Regions from separate parts of the Homo sapiens genome. Here region 1 is linked to region 2. Evidence: promoter capture Hi-C in 16 types of primary human blood cells and fetal thymus (Javierre and others, 2016). All regions are on one chromosome and are shown on one strand. Each heading gives the region's core, a stretch centred on a gene start or on the middle of the fragment in contact. The rest is flanking DNA. Distances are from core to core; before and after follow the strand shown. Region 1 overlaps ALPI (alkaline phosphatase, intestinal). Region 2 holds the start of NPPC (natriuretic peptide C).

What was found. Contacts are between HindIII fragments. The CHiCAGO score rates a contact against its expected background, and 5 or more counts as called.
Region 1: a contact is called between a fragment that was not itself captured here and the fragment with the promoter of NPPC in region 2, in 1 of 17 cell types (M0 macrophages). The highest score is 5.8, in M0 macrophages.

The regions. Positions count from the first base shown.
Region 1 is chr2:232,457,991-232,464,882 of GRCh38, forward strand. ALPI (alkaline phosphatase, intestinal) reads left to right here. Exons shown (of 11, transcript NM_001631.5): 8 at 8-142; 9 at 227-418; 10 at 642-758; 11 at 870-2,763. The coding sequence ends at 1,156. Among named protein-coding and RNA genes, the nearest start is that of ALPI, 5.3 kb to the left of the region's middle. The HindIII fragment of the contact is 1,979 bases long and covers 3,201-5,179 here.
Region 2 is chr2:231,920,937-231,927,645 of GRCh38, forward strand. NPPC (natriuretic peptide C) reads right to left here and starts at 5,460. Exons shown (of 3, transcript NM_024409.4): 1 at 5,224-5,460; 2 at 4,469-4,779; 3 at 873-1,379. The coding sequence starts at 5,313. The coding sequence ends at 4,489. RefSeq lists silencers at 4,354-4,443, 4,524-4,573, 5,529-5,748 and an enhancer at 6,150-6,709. The HindIII fragment of the contact is 15,333 bases long and covers 1-6,709 here.

The DNA.
Region 1 (6,892 bases), core at 2,940-5,439, 540 kb after region 2:
CCCACAGGCCTCTTTGAGCCCGGAGACACGAAATATGAGATCCACCGAGACCCCACACTGGACCCCTCCCTGATGGAGATGACAGAGGCTGCCCTGCGCCTGCTGAGCAGGAACCCCCGCGGCTTCTACCTCTTTGTGGAGGGTGCGTGGTGGCCCCTGGGGAGTGGAGGAAGGCGGGGCGCGGCAGGGCAGGTTCAAGCATCACCCCCCTCTGGCCTTCCTGCAGGCGGCCGCATCGACCATGGTCATCATGAGGGTGTGGCTTACCAGGCACTCACTGAGGCGGTCATGTTCGACGACGCCATTGAGAGGGCGGGCCAGCTCACCAGCGAGGAGGACACGCTGACCCTCGTCACCGCTGACCACTCCCATGTCTTCTCCTTTGGTGGCTACACCTTGCGAGGGAGCTCCATCTTCGGTAGGCCTGGGGAGAGTGGCAGGTGCTGCTGCATCAATTATGAGGGTGAAGTTTGAGCTTCAGTTTCCTCCTCTGTCAAAAGTGTGCAATGCTGGCACCAGCCCTATAGGGATCTTGTGAGGACCGAGCCCCCGAACAGGCAAAAAGTGGCGGTGCCTGGCACATAGGAGGCACTCCCACAGCTGTGGTCAGCTCAACTACAGGGACCCGCATCTCCCTACAGGGTTGGCCCCCAGCAAGGCTCAGGACAGCAAAGCCTACACGTCCATCCTGTACGGCAATGGCCCGGGCTACGTGTTCAACTCAGGCGTGCGACCAGACGTGAATGAGAGCGAGAGCGGTGAGTGAGGCTGAATGGCCCGTGCAGGGGGACCAGGGTGCCAGGGATGGGGGCATTCGCGGGAGGGGGACGCCGCCTGCCTGCCCTGAAGTGCACTCACCCTCCTACCAGGGAGCCCCGATTACCAGCAGCAGGCGGCGGTGCCCCTGTCGTCCGAGACCCACGGAGGCGAAGACGTGGCGGTGTTTGCGCGCGGCCCGCAGGCGCACCTGGTGCATGGTGTGCAGGAGCAGAGCTTCGTAGCGCATGTCATGGCCTTCGCTGCCTGTCTGGAGCCCTACACGGCCTGCGACCTGGCGCCTCCCGCCTGCACCACCGACGCCGCGCACCCAGTTGCCGCGTCGCTGCCACTGCTGGCCGGGACCCTGCTGCTGCTGGGGGCGTCCGCTGCTCCCTGAGTGCCCCACTCCGGAGTTATCCTGCTCCCCACCTCCGGGCGTCCTGCCCTGTTCCCCGTCCTGAGCCGCCACTTCCAGCGAACACACACAGGTGTCCTGCCGTTGGACCTTCACCTCCTAGAGATAAACCAGCCTCAGCTGGCGCAGCGGGGCCCTTCTTCCCTCCGCATCCCCTTCAGGGAGCAGGAGCCCAGGGCGCCCTGGGAGCTGAGCCTGGGACTTCCAGGACCTCCCCTCAGGTTGTTCTCTGATTCTTCCTCCCAACCCCAGAGACTGCAGATTTGTGCCATGCGGCTGCCTGCACCCCAGACAATAAAGGGACCAAAACCACCCAACCCCCACCCTGCCTCTATCCTAAGGAAGACCAAGCAGGCCTGGACCCAGAGACGTCCCCCATCGTGGGACACGACACACCCAGACCGCGTGCCCCACCGTCTTAGCTTCAATCCTGGCAGCACCTGGTAGACCCAAGGACTTGGGTGGATCAGGACACCTGAAGAAGAGAAGCTTCCGGCAACCCTGCAACCCACCCAAGGAGGCTACTGGATCGGGGATTCCCAGGGGGGCTTTGACACAGTCCTCTGCTGTCTCCCCACTAGGATCATTCCACACCCCTGCACCTGACCAAGGGACCAATGAGGCAGAGGCTTGCCCCAAGTCACAGCCACTCAGATGCTTCCTGCCCCCCAGTGCCCATTCCAGGTCACCAGATCCAAGGAGCGCTTGAGGAGCTCTGGGTACAGGGCAGCAACCCAGAGCCCATGGGCCCTCCCGGGACATCTGGATGCTGGGCATAGATTTCTCAACAAGGAAGACTCCCCTGCCTCCTCAAGGTCTCCATTCTCCTAGGAGACAAAGCAATAATAAAAGGTGTTAGACAATGTAATGCCAGTACTACTTCCTAGGAGAAAAATCATGAGTGAGTGTGGGCACAGTATCTGGAGAGGTGGATAACGCAGGCCAGGAGGTACTGCTGAGGGGCAGATGATTGAGCAAGAGACTTGAACAGAGTGGGGGCTTGAGCAAGGCAGCACAGCAGTGCAAACGCCCTGGGGCAGTGTCAGCAGGTGCTCTGGGAGGCCAAGGGCTGGATCAGAGGGGTGGGGGTGGGTGGGCAGAGTGGGGAAAGCCTGAGGGGTCAGGAGAGTGGGGTGTGCATGGGGGACTGTGAAGTCTGGTTAGAGGGGTGTGGTTGGAGGTCTTTGAGGAGGGCTGTGACCTGCCCTGGTTGGGAAATAAGCACTCTGGCTGCTGCCAGGAGAAGGGTCTGGTCTTTTGGGCAGAGGGTGGGGGTGGTGGCAGGCTCAGGTGAAAGCTGGGGAAGGAGCTGACTCCAGGTGTTTCTGACCTCCCTCTGAAAGTATTCTGGAGCGCCCATCCCAATACAGCCATACTTAGTGAGTACACACCTGCTCCAAGAGAACATTGAAAAGAATAAAGGTGAAATCAACCACATTTTCCAGCAAATTTTGCAGTATTACAAATTTATTTGTACATTTACAAAGGTGCAAAAAAGCATCTTGCTTTTGCAAGAAATAGTAACATCATTCAATATGCTTTCTTATTTACTAAAACCTTGAAATAAAATTGTAAAACATCAGTTTGAAGGCCTGACTCTCAGGGTAGTTCTTTTTTAATTCTGGGTTTTAGTAGCTGTCACAAAAATATTGGAGGACCATGATCCCACTTGTGAATAGCCATAGGACTCCAGCCTGGGAAGCATAGCGAAAATCTGTGTCTAAAAAATGAAATAAAAGGATGAATTTTATGGTATGTAAATTATATCTAAATTTTAAAAAACAGATTCGAATATATAATCTGCTTTCAAGTTTTTTTAAATGTGTAGGGATCAGGGTTTTATCAGTCAAATACATTTTTTACCACAAAATTCACATGTCAATGAAAACATTCTCAAACTTTGGTTCTAAAAAATGTTTTCTTTGGCATGAGTTTTCATTCCAAGATGATTACTTTCTCATTTTTTCATTGAAAGGACATCTTTACCTTGAAGGAGCAGATGCAAGAAAAGTACAATTATTTTTCAAGCTTTTTCCTGATTGCCTAAAACAGACAGCTCTTGTCATCTCAAAAGTGTCAGCATTTTGGTCTTTAGGAAGGAGGGAGCCCGGGCGCAGTGGCTCACGTCTGTAATCCTAACACTCGGGAGGCCAATGTGGGCAGATCATTTGAGGTCAGGAATTCGAGACCAGCTTGATCAACATGGAAATCCCATCTCTACTAAATATACAAAAATTAGCCAGGCATGGTGCCGTACACCTGTAATCCCAGCACTTTGGGAGGCTGAGGCGGGCGGATCATTTGAGGTCAGGCGTTTGAGACCACCCTGGTCAACATGGTGAAACCCTGTCTCTACTGAAAAGACAAAAATTAGCCAGGCGTGGTGGTGGGGGCCTATAATCCCAGCTACTCCGGAGGCTGAGACAGGAGAATTGCTTGAACCTGGAGGCGGAGGTTGCAGGGAGCCGAGATCACATCACTGCCTCCAGCCTGGGTGACAGAGCGAGACTCCCTCTCAAAAAAAAGAAGGAGGGAGGTGGGAGTGGGGGTGAGGATTTAAAAATTACCTATCGGGTACAAGCTCATTATATGGGTATTGGGTTCACTAGAAGCCTAATCTCCACCAGTATGCAGTCTACCCATGTAATAAACAAGCACATGTACCCCTGAATCTAAACTTTTAAAAAAGAATATTCACAGGAAAAAAAAAGAGTTAATCACAGGGAAGCAGAAACAGACATACATTAAAAATTACTGATAAATTTTTTAAAAATAAGGAGGGAGGGCCAGGCACGGTGGCTAACACCTATAATCCCAGCACTTTGGGAGGCCGAGGTGGGCGGATCACGAGGTCAGGAGATTGAGACCATCCTGGCTAACACGGTGAAATCCCGTCTCTACTAAGAATACACAAAATTAGCCGGGCTTGGTGGCGGGCGCCTGTAGCCCCAGCTACTTAAGAGGCTGAGGCAGGAGAATCACTTGAACCCAGGAGGCGGAGGTTGCAGTGAGCTGAGATCACATCACTGCACTCCAGCCTGGGCGACAGAGTGAGACTCCGTCTAAAAATAAATAAATAAATAAGGAGGGAGGGAAAGTCAAGCAGAGAGGGAGGGGAACTTGGGGCAACCCTCTTCGGTATTTTGCTATGAAGATAAGTCATTCTGTGTGGCTGGAAAGTTTTCATGGTCCACCCAATCTCCTTACCAAGTATGGGAAAGATTCTACTGTAATGCCACAGTCTTGGCTTTATAACATTAGCCCACTGATGGTCTGCAACATTCTATGCCCTCCAGGCTTCTACCTCTTCCCTGCGCTGATTAGACTGTGGATGAGCCAATGAGTGAGGGGTAAGGGTGAAGCCACCTCTGCACCCTGATTCGTATCCAGAATCCTTTTTTAAAAAACCCTTTCTGAGTAGCTATTCTATCTGTGGTTGCATTTTTACCGTTTTTCCCATATGACATCGTTTTTATTAAAGAAGGCATTTACTGTTGGCAATATATCTTGTCTGCTATATCTTCCCTTTAGTGGCTCAAAAAAAAAAAAGGAAAGAAAGAAAGAAGTGGTTTGTGTATTTCATTATTGGAATAGAACCTGGCAAATACCTTCAGCTGAGCCATGTTGGGAACATCTGTGCTTTCAGCACACTGCAAAGCAAACCTCCCACACTGGGTAATTTGCTCTAACATGAGTTTCTTCCAATCTTCGGCAGTGTTTTCTCTACATCTTTCGATGGTGTTTGCTGACAAAGAAATGCCTTTCGGTTTGTCGACAGATCATTTATTGTTCATTGTTTCTGCCATTTTTCCTGCAGCAGAAAGAATAAGTGTCTGCCCATTGGTAGATGTTTTTTGCTTCATGCTATCATGCAAGAAACTTTAAAAGAGCTTTCCAAATATTTATCATTGCTTAGGGAAATAACTAAGAAGTACTGGGTTGAACAGCACAGAACTTTAAACACCGCTGGGAAAAAAACTGCTCAGGTTTCTCTTCGGTTCTGAAAGCTTAGTTTTAGACACCTTGCCAACCATGAGGATTTCACACTGCTGATGACTTAATAGCTCCAGGCACCAGGCACCCGGGGCAAACTTCAGCAGTAACCACAGAGTGGGGGAAATTCAAAGAGTTTTGTTTGCTGATTTTTTATTTTAGGGGCTAACTTCTGGTCAGGTCTGTACCCTGAGCTCAGCCAAGAGTAATAAGGAATTCTCAGCTCTCCCTTCTGCTGTGGTTCACCTGCTCTGGATTTCTGGTGTTCATTGCAGATTCCTTACAGGAATCTTGTGTGAGCCACTTGGCCATTTTGGGGGATGAGTTCGGTTAATACCAGATCATATAAGCCGAGCGCGGTGGCTCACGCCAGTAATCCCAGCACTTTGGGAGGCTGAGGTGATCGGCCATCACCTGAGGTTGGGAGTTCAAGACCAGCCTGACCAACATGGAGAAATTCTGTGTCTACTAAAAATACAAAATTAGCTGGGCTTGGTGGCGCATGCCTGTAATCCCAGCTACTCAGGAGGCTGAGGCAGGAGAATCATTCGAACCCGGGAGGCGAAGGTTTTGAGATGGTGCCATTATACTCCAGCCTGGCCAACAAGAGTGAAACTCTGTCTCAAAAAAAAAAAAAAAAACAAGATCATATAATCCATCAATCCACTTAGACGCACTAAACTCTAATCCTCCGCAATCCGCTGAAAGCGTGCAATCCAGAGTGGGTATTGCATCAACCCCTGGTCTCGGGCACCAAATTCCCTTCTTCTGGGACACCAGAGAACTGCGTGGGGTGGTACCTGCATGAAGGGTGAAGGCGCCAGCATGGAACTTGATATTAAACATGAGCTCTTGGGGCGCCCACTGCTCAGGGCTGTGGCAAGGCATATGGCGAGCTGAGCAAACAGTAGGCACTCAGGAGTGCCTGACATCCCTTTAACCAAACCCCAAGGTCCAGGTGAGTTTTGAAGTACTTGAGTACTGGGCAGGATGCCCAGGCTGAGCAACTCCCTGTGAGCAGGGGTATCTCACTCCCTGCAGAGCACAGACCCCAGAAGGCACCACAGGTTCAGTCCCCAGCAGATTCGAAGCCCCCTGCCCATCGAGTTCCCTTGAACCCCTGCCCCTGCACAGATCCAGTGATTGGCACAGGAAGCCTCCAGATCCAGCGAGAGGAGCACACTCCGGCAGCCTCTCGGGAGGACTCAAGGGGGATCCCAGCTGTGCCATTCTGGCCTGGGTGCTGAAGTTGCATCTGATCGTGCCCTGGCCCCACTGGTTCTAGGAACAGGCCTCCCCACCAGGTTAGCAGCTGCATAACTGGCCTCTGCCCCTAGAGGAAGCCTCCCTGAATCTCAGCCTCCCAGAGGGGCTCCAGAGGCCTTCCGGAAGCTGTGTGGGATTTGCAGTTGCACCCCTTCATCTAAGGCGGCCCCAGGGTCTACTGACCCCAGCTGACCATTGACTGCCAGTGCACACACCAGACCCCAACACCAACAAGCAGCTGGAAGCTCCCCTTGATAGAACCTTGCCACTGGGGCTGCCAGTCTTTGCTAATGCGCTTGGCATGGTGCCTGGGAACCAGCCACATGGCTCTTGAGCTGCCCTTCAAGGAGGAAACAGAAGTCCCCTGTCAAAAGATGAGGCCACCATCCACCCTTAACAGGGAGGTGGCCAGGCCCTGGTACCCTGTTCTGGCACTTTCTTTGTTCACCAGATTTGCAA
Region 2 (6,709 bases), core at 4,210-6,709:
TATGAAATTTGATAACGCCTTTTCCTTCTCTCCAAGGTCTCGGCTCCCAGCTGACCATGGCATTCATTATGAGGCACAAACTACCCATCCTAGGCTTTGTGAGCGAGTCTAGAAAACAGAGTTGCTGAGATTCGTAAGGTGACCTGGCCAATTCTGCAAGATATGCAGAAGCCTTCTAAATCTCCCCCAAACAGAGAGGGAGTTAGCAGCTATTTCTTCCACTAACAGCAGAAGATGGAGTAGAATTTACAGGACCCTAAGTCAGCTGAATTCAAAATTAATTTTTTTTTTGAGATGGAGTCTTGCTCTGTTGCCCAGGATTGGGGTGCCGTCTGTGATCTCGGCTCACTGCAACCTCTGCCTCCTGGGTTCAAGCAATTCTCCTGCCTCAGCCTCCCGAGTAGCTGGGATTACAGGCACCTGCCACCACGCCCGGCAATTTTGGTAATTTTAGTAGAGATGGGGTTTCACCATATTGGCCAGGCTGGTCTTGAACTCCTGACCTCAGATGACCCACCCACCTTGGCCTCCCAAAGTGCTGGGATTACAGGCACCTGCCACCACGCCCGGCCGTCATTAATTTAATTCATAACATCTGACTTCCTAGCGGTCAGGTGTTTGAGCAGAGCTTCCTGACCTGGCTGAGCTGGTCAGAATCACTTGGGACGAAACTTACACAGCCAGTCCTATCAGATTCGGAGAAGGCAGGAATCTGTATTTTTAGCAAGGTCTCCAGGGGATTCTGACACAGATAAATCCAGAATTGGGAATCTGCCTGTCAGACCTATTTGGAGGCAATGCCTTTTCTTCACATTCTCCCTCTTTCTCAGCCTAAGTCCTAAAAAATACAGGCAACAAGTAAATAAAGACAGTTTTCAAGATATTCATGGAATGACTTTTTTTTTTTTACATTTTTTTTAACTAGTTAGGACAAAAACATTACAATGATTGACTTCTTTCATTTAGTTACATAAATAAAATTTTTATAAATATCTCTTTATAAACAATATAAATAGCTTTACAACATAAATACATTTATGCATGACATGAATTTACAAACAGCAATGTTTTACAGCTGGTTCTGTCAGTCTCTTAAAAACTGTCCCTTGTCATCAAGTCGGTGTAGGTGTGTGTGTTTCATGTATATAATATATATATAATATATAACTTTTTATTTTTCATTTTAAAAAAACAAATAATAAAATCACAACCCCCTCCCCAAATAATAATAAAACAGCTGGTGTTGTGTATTCCCAGTACCAGGAAAAAAAAAGAAAGAAAGAAAGAAATGTAAAAGCCACATTGCGTTGGAGGTGTTTCCAGATGCTGGAGGCTGATGACCAAAGATGACCTCAGCACAACGGAGCCAGTTCCCGATCCTGAAACACAGAGTGAACACGGGACGCTCAGTTCTGGCCCCTTAGCTGAGAAATCCTAGCAGGCAGGGTGGTTCTAGAACCTTTCCTCCCCTTCTCCCAGCAGCTTGAGGGATGTTCCCCTACCTCCGCCACCCCCCCAACCAGGCCTTCCTGCAGAGGGGAGGAGCCCCCCATTGCGCACTCCCCAGGCCCCTTCTGCTTTGCTGCCCCAGTACAAGTGGAACCAGCGTGTCTGCAACACTCCTTCTTCCCCCAGTCTAACCACAGGCCTTGCCCTTGGCACTCAGGGAAGCGCAGTGAGAGAAAGAGAATGGAAAATCTCCCATCCCTTTTTTGCTACAACGCAAACCCTCAGTCAGTGCTCGCCCGGGGTTCGTGTGTCTGAGTGACCATGGATGGAAGGAGAAGAGAGACATCTCAGGATCAGGAATCCTGGGCTCAAATCTCTACTCTGACGTTGGGTCCCTGGATGACCCTGGATAGCTGGGAGTGTTCACCCATAAAATTGGATAATAGCCACCTCCTAGGGCTGGCTTTCAGATTCAACAGGGAGCCTCGGATCGGGCATCGGCAGTGTCTGGGTCACAGCTGCCACCCAGTAAACAGCACCTCCTTCCCTAGCTGGTTGTGCAGAGGAAAGGGTCTGGGTCCAGGTCCCCTTCAGGAGCAGAGGAAATGGTGTCTCACACCAGCCTTGGGGAAATGCACAGTCATGGGCTCTGAGTGTTGTTAGGGTAAACTCTCTGCTAATGGGTGTGTGGGTGCCCCGGGGCCCAAGGAAGGTGGCCTTCAGGGGCGTTCAGTGCCCTCCCAAAGGACAGCATGCACAGAGGGGACCTGGGCCAGAATGGCTTGATGAACCCTCCCCCACTCCCTTCTCTGGCTCTGCCGTGAGTTTACACAGATGACAGCTGTCTGTGATGTTGCTGGGCCCCAGGGGCAAAGTGTTCATTCAGGTTTCACCTACACCCAGTCTCTGTCATTAGCATTTTACAATGAATACCTAGAACCATCAACCACCATCATTACGGTGGCTTAGAGCCCAGGTCACCCACTGCGTGGAGAAACAGCCACAACCTCAAAGAGTTTTCATTAATGTGAAAAATCTAAGCTGTCTTTCTCTTTACGCCCAGTGATATATCCTGGGCATCGTCACCAGGAGCCTGCAGGAATGATGTTCTGCTCTCTCACTGGGAATGGGGGGCAGTGAGGGTGGGGTTTTTATTTTTCATTTAAAAAATCCCAAATAATAAATCCACACCGCCCTTCCCAAATAATAATAAAACAGCTGGTGTTGGGCGTAAGCCGGTGTTGAAGGTGTCGACGGTAAGTGTTCATCTATGCTAAGAGAGCTGGTAGGAGATTATTGAACCCCCCTGATCAAAGGGGTCGAGAATTCTTAACAATGTGGATTCCTCCTACACAGCATCTTTCACCACCCGTTTGGCCATCACTTGGTGACCACAGACATCCAGGCCCAAGAACAAAGCCCCTGTGGGGATGCGCATTCCAGGTACGAACCAATGGAGAGTCACTAACATTTGCTCAGGTTCTAAAGTTTGAACTTGATGCTTAAATCAAACTGAAAATTTGAGGCCTCAGACTCCGTCTCTTTGTTGTTTAGACAGGAGAGAAGAGAGCAAAGGCATTCCAAGGGTAGCTACTGAAGGCTGGTCCCCAAGTGTCAGAATCATTCTTCTCCCTGTGCAGGGGAGAGTCAAGATCACAGACAACTACAGCCTTTGCAGAACTGGGGAGAGGCCCACAGCCGAGTGAGGTCTGGCTGCAAAGAGAGGAAGGGCACTGGTTAAAACCTCGGGCAGGTGGGAGTGGCCATGGGCCAGGGTGTGCTGGTTTCTCTGGTCATTGACAAATATTTCCACGAGTCTGTTCGGGGTGCAGTGGGTCCTAGAGTGCCTTAGGCCAGCACTTCGCCCTTAAGCTGTTCAATATGGAGAGGTGAATGGGTTCACAAACTGTGAAAAAGTGTTCTGTACTGTAAAAAAGAGACAGTGTGCTGGACAGGCGCTCTTGTTTCCCTCCGGGAGAAGATCCGACACTGACAAGGGTTTCTGGGGAGGAGACAGCAGCTTGCCCGTAGCCTGGGATGGGACAGTCAAGGTGTGGGACAGGCAGTGGCAGCTGCTGAGCTGGAGGCAAGAAAGCGAGAAAGCCAGGTAAGCCTGATCCTAACGCACATGACTGTCAATGTCAGAGGCTGGGATGTTATTCAGTGGGCACGGGCAGGCGGCAGGAATAGAGAGGAGGGAAAGAGGAGAGGTGAGGCTCTCTGCAGCAGTAAATTACCACCACGCGGCACCCGGCAGGGGGTGGCGGTAGGGCAGAGGTTTCCAGCCCTAGTGCGGGGTGAGACCCCACACCAGAAACGGAGCCCAGAGCACCGGTTGGGTCGGGACAGGGTTGGTGAGGGACTCTGGGACGTGTTGAGTTCGAGGCTGGGGCAAATAATATTTACTTTAGTGTCTTTCCTATTCCCTGAAATAGTGCCACAAGCACTGAGATTCACCCCCGAAGCCACCAGGCTGCAGCTGCCTCAGGACCCTGGACAGACCAGTTTGCCCACTGCCTGGGTTTAGAGAAGGGACAGGAATCGGAGTGTCCCAGGCAGAAGGGCGCTCTGACAGTGCCAGCAGAGGGCTACTCTCACTACAGGGGGCATGGTGGCCAGCAGATGATCGATGTCCCCTGGACTTGTGGGTGTAACCTTCCTTCTCTGCTCCCACAAACCCATGATCTCCTCTCAATCCCCCCACCAGCTGGCCAATAGGGGCCAGTGCTGCTAGTTCAGCTACGGTTCAGGGGTGGGTGAGACACCACCAAGCCTGTTTCTGCTTCTCCAGAAGAAGCCAGGTGGGTTCAACCAGGCTGAGCCGTTTCTGACCTTGCCAAAGTTCCCCGATCACGTTATCCTTCGCTTTCTTTGTCTGTAAAGTGGGATAATAAAGGGGGCGGCTGGCAAACGCCTAGCACAACTTGAGCAAAGGCGGCTCGCGCGCCTCCGAAGGCCGGCTGGGCGGCGGGCGGTCCCGGGCCGGGCTGGGGCTGGGCGTCGGGTGGGCCGTACTCACCGCCGCCAGGGGGCGCCGCACTAACATCCCAGGCCGCTCATGGAGCCGATTCGGTCCAGCTTGAGGCCGAAGCAGCCCTTGGACAAGCCCTTCTTGTTGGCTCCTTTGTATTTGCGCGCGTTGGGGTGCTCTTGCAGAAGGCGAGCCCACGCTGCCCGCGACTTGGTGTCCACGCGCAGGTCCCGGAGCAGTCGCGACCGGTCGCCCTTGAGATTGGCGCCCCCGCCCCCGGGAGCCTTGTCGCCCTTCTTCTGACCGCCGCCCGCAGCCTGCGGCTCGGCCAGCTCCTCTGCCGGCGGGGTTCGCGGGACCTGTCCGAGGAAAGAGCGGGCAGGTGAAGGGACACGCGGCTGCAGCACGGGGGACTCTGATGCTCCAGCCCCACGCGCCCGCCGGCGCGGGGTGTCCCTCCCAAGCCCAGAGCCGCCCCCACCGATGCCGGCCAGCTTGGCCCCGCATCCACCTGCCACGCGGCCGCCTTCGCCGCTCCCTCCGGAAGCCCCCTGCCCTCCCTTTGCTGCTCGCCGGGCAGGCCACACTGGGGTAGGGGGCTGCGCATGGGCCGATGTTCTCCGGAGGCTGGAGAAGTGGACCCCCGAATCCGCGCTTCGAGGGCTCCCCGGCTCTCGCCCACGCGCATCTCGGAGGAGACAGCCGCCTGCCTTCCCTCTCTCCTGGGTCCTGCGCGCCGCATTCTCCAAGCCCCCAGCCTCCCACGCCTCTCCCAGGCTCGGCGTCCCCACGACAGCACCCACCTTCGGCGGCGCCCCGGGCTTGGCTTCGGAGGGCCGGAGGGAGAGCAGCGTGAGCAGCAGGGCGCAGGCCAGCAGCTGGGAGAGATGCATGGTGCCGCTGGGGTCGAGGGGCGCACACGGGCGGCAGCGAGGGCGCGCAGGTCGGCGGGCAGACCAGCAGGGGGATGCGGAGCAGGCTGGCTGGGCTGCAGGGCGAGCAGGGTCCCAGTGCTGCGCGGCGCCGGCTGGGTGCGCTCTGAGCCCGTGACTCTGCTCGCGCCTTTATAATCCAACCTGCCGCTGATGTCATCCTCCCGCCCACCGGGCCGCCCGGGCCAATGACACCACGCACGCGGCCGCGCCGAGGGCCGGGAGGGGGCCGCGGGGGCTCCCCTCCCTTATCCCACCCCGGAGGGATCCCGCGGCTCGGCGGGCTCGCTCCAGGCTGCACTTGGAGCTGCAGAGCTGAGCGCACAGGGGAACTCCATTTGCAGCGAGCGCGCGCCCTGGCCTGCCGAGCATCGGTGCGCCTGGTGCCCTGTGCACCCACTAGGTCCTCATCGCACTCACTCTACCTGGAAGGGATACGTAGCCCTCTTTGCAGGTGCAAAGACAGGCTCAGAGGAATGAAGTCACTTGCCCAAAGTCATACAGGCATAAAGTTGGCGCTGCCCGAAATCCACGCAGCCCTGCTTGTCGCCAAACTCTTCCCTGGGCACCTGACAGCCGCGGGATGGCATTGCAGCTCCGCCTTTCACCTGCCGGTCAGGGCGGGAGCGCAGACCACAGCGACGTCGTTAGGTTGGGGAGGCAGAGGATGGGGTTGGAGGACTGGGGTGGGAGGCGCAGGGAGAGCGGGGTTCGCCTGGGCCGCAGGGGGGAGCGCAAGTCTTCCACACTGGAGAGTGCAGGGGTGTCGCCAGCCTGAGTGTTTGAGCGCAAGGCGGGAACGAGGGGACTGCGAGCGCGGAACCAAGATATTCATGCTCATGCGTGTGCTCCGCGGCATCGTATGCTCGCCAGTTACTGCTCTAGGTTCACGTTCAGCCGGTTTCGGCCACACAGAACGTCCCGGGGTCTGACTCCGCTGGTGAACTCCCTCTGTGGGAACAATGCGCACCTGACCTTGCCTGCACCCACGCGAGGATCCGCTGCTGGGGGAAGCCCGCTCCAGTATCCTGTGCACTTTCACAGGCTGGGGAGAGAGCTTCCTAGCCAGCGGCCCAGTCCAGCCTCTGCCAGCCGTGACAGGTGGTCAACTTCCCGTTTTTGACTGTAGAGAGGTCCCCGTGGCTCTCGGGACATGGCCACATATCCCTACCACTCACGAACTTGCTCTCCTTGCACTGGGCTTCTCGGTCCCTTGGACACTAAGGAGTGTGGTGGGCATTTGGGCACTGCGGTGTGGGCCGCAGAGGCGGAGAGCCCAGATCCCCCGAATTGATTGAAGAGCAGGAATCTATGACTGGCTGCTGCTGAGCAGGACGCAGGCTGGAGAGAGAACAAA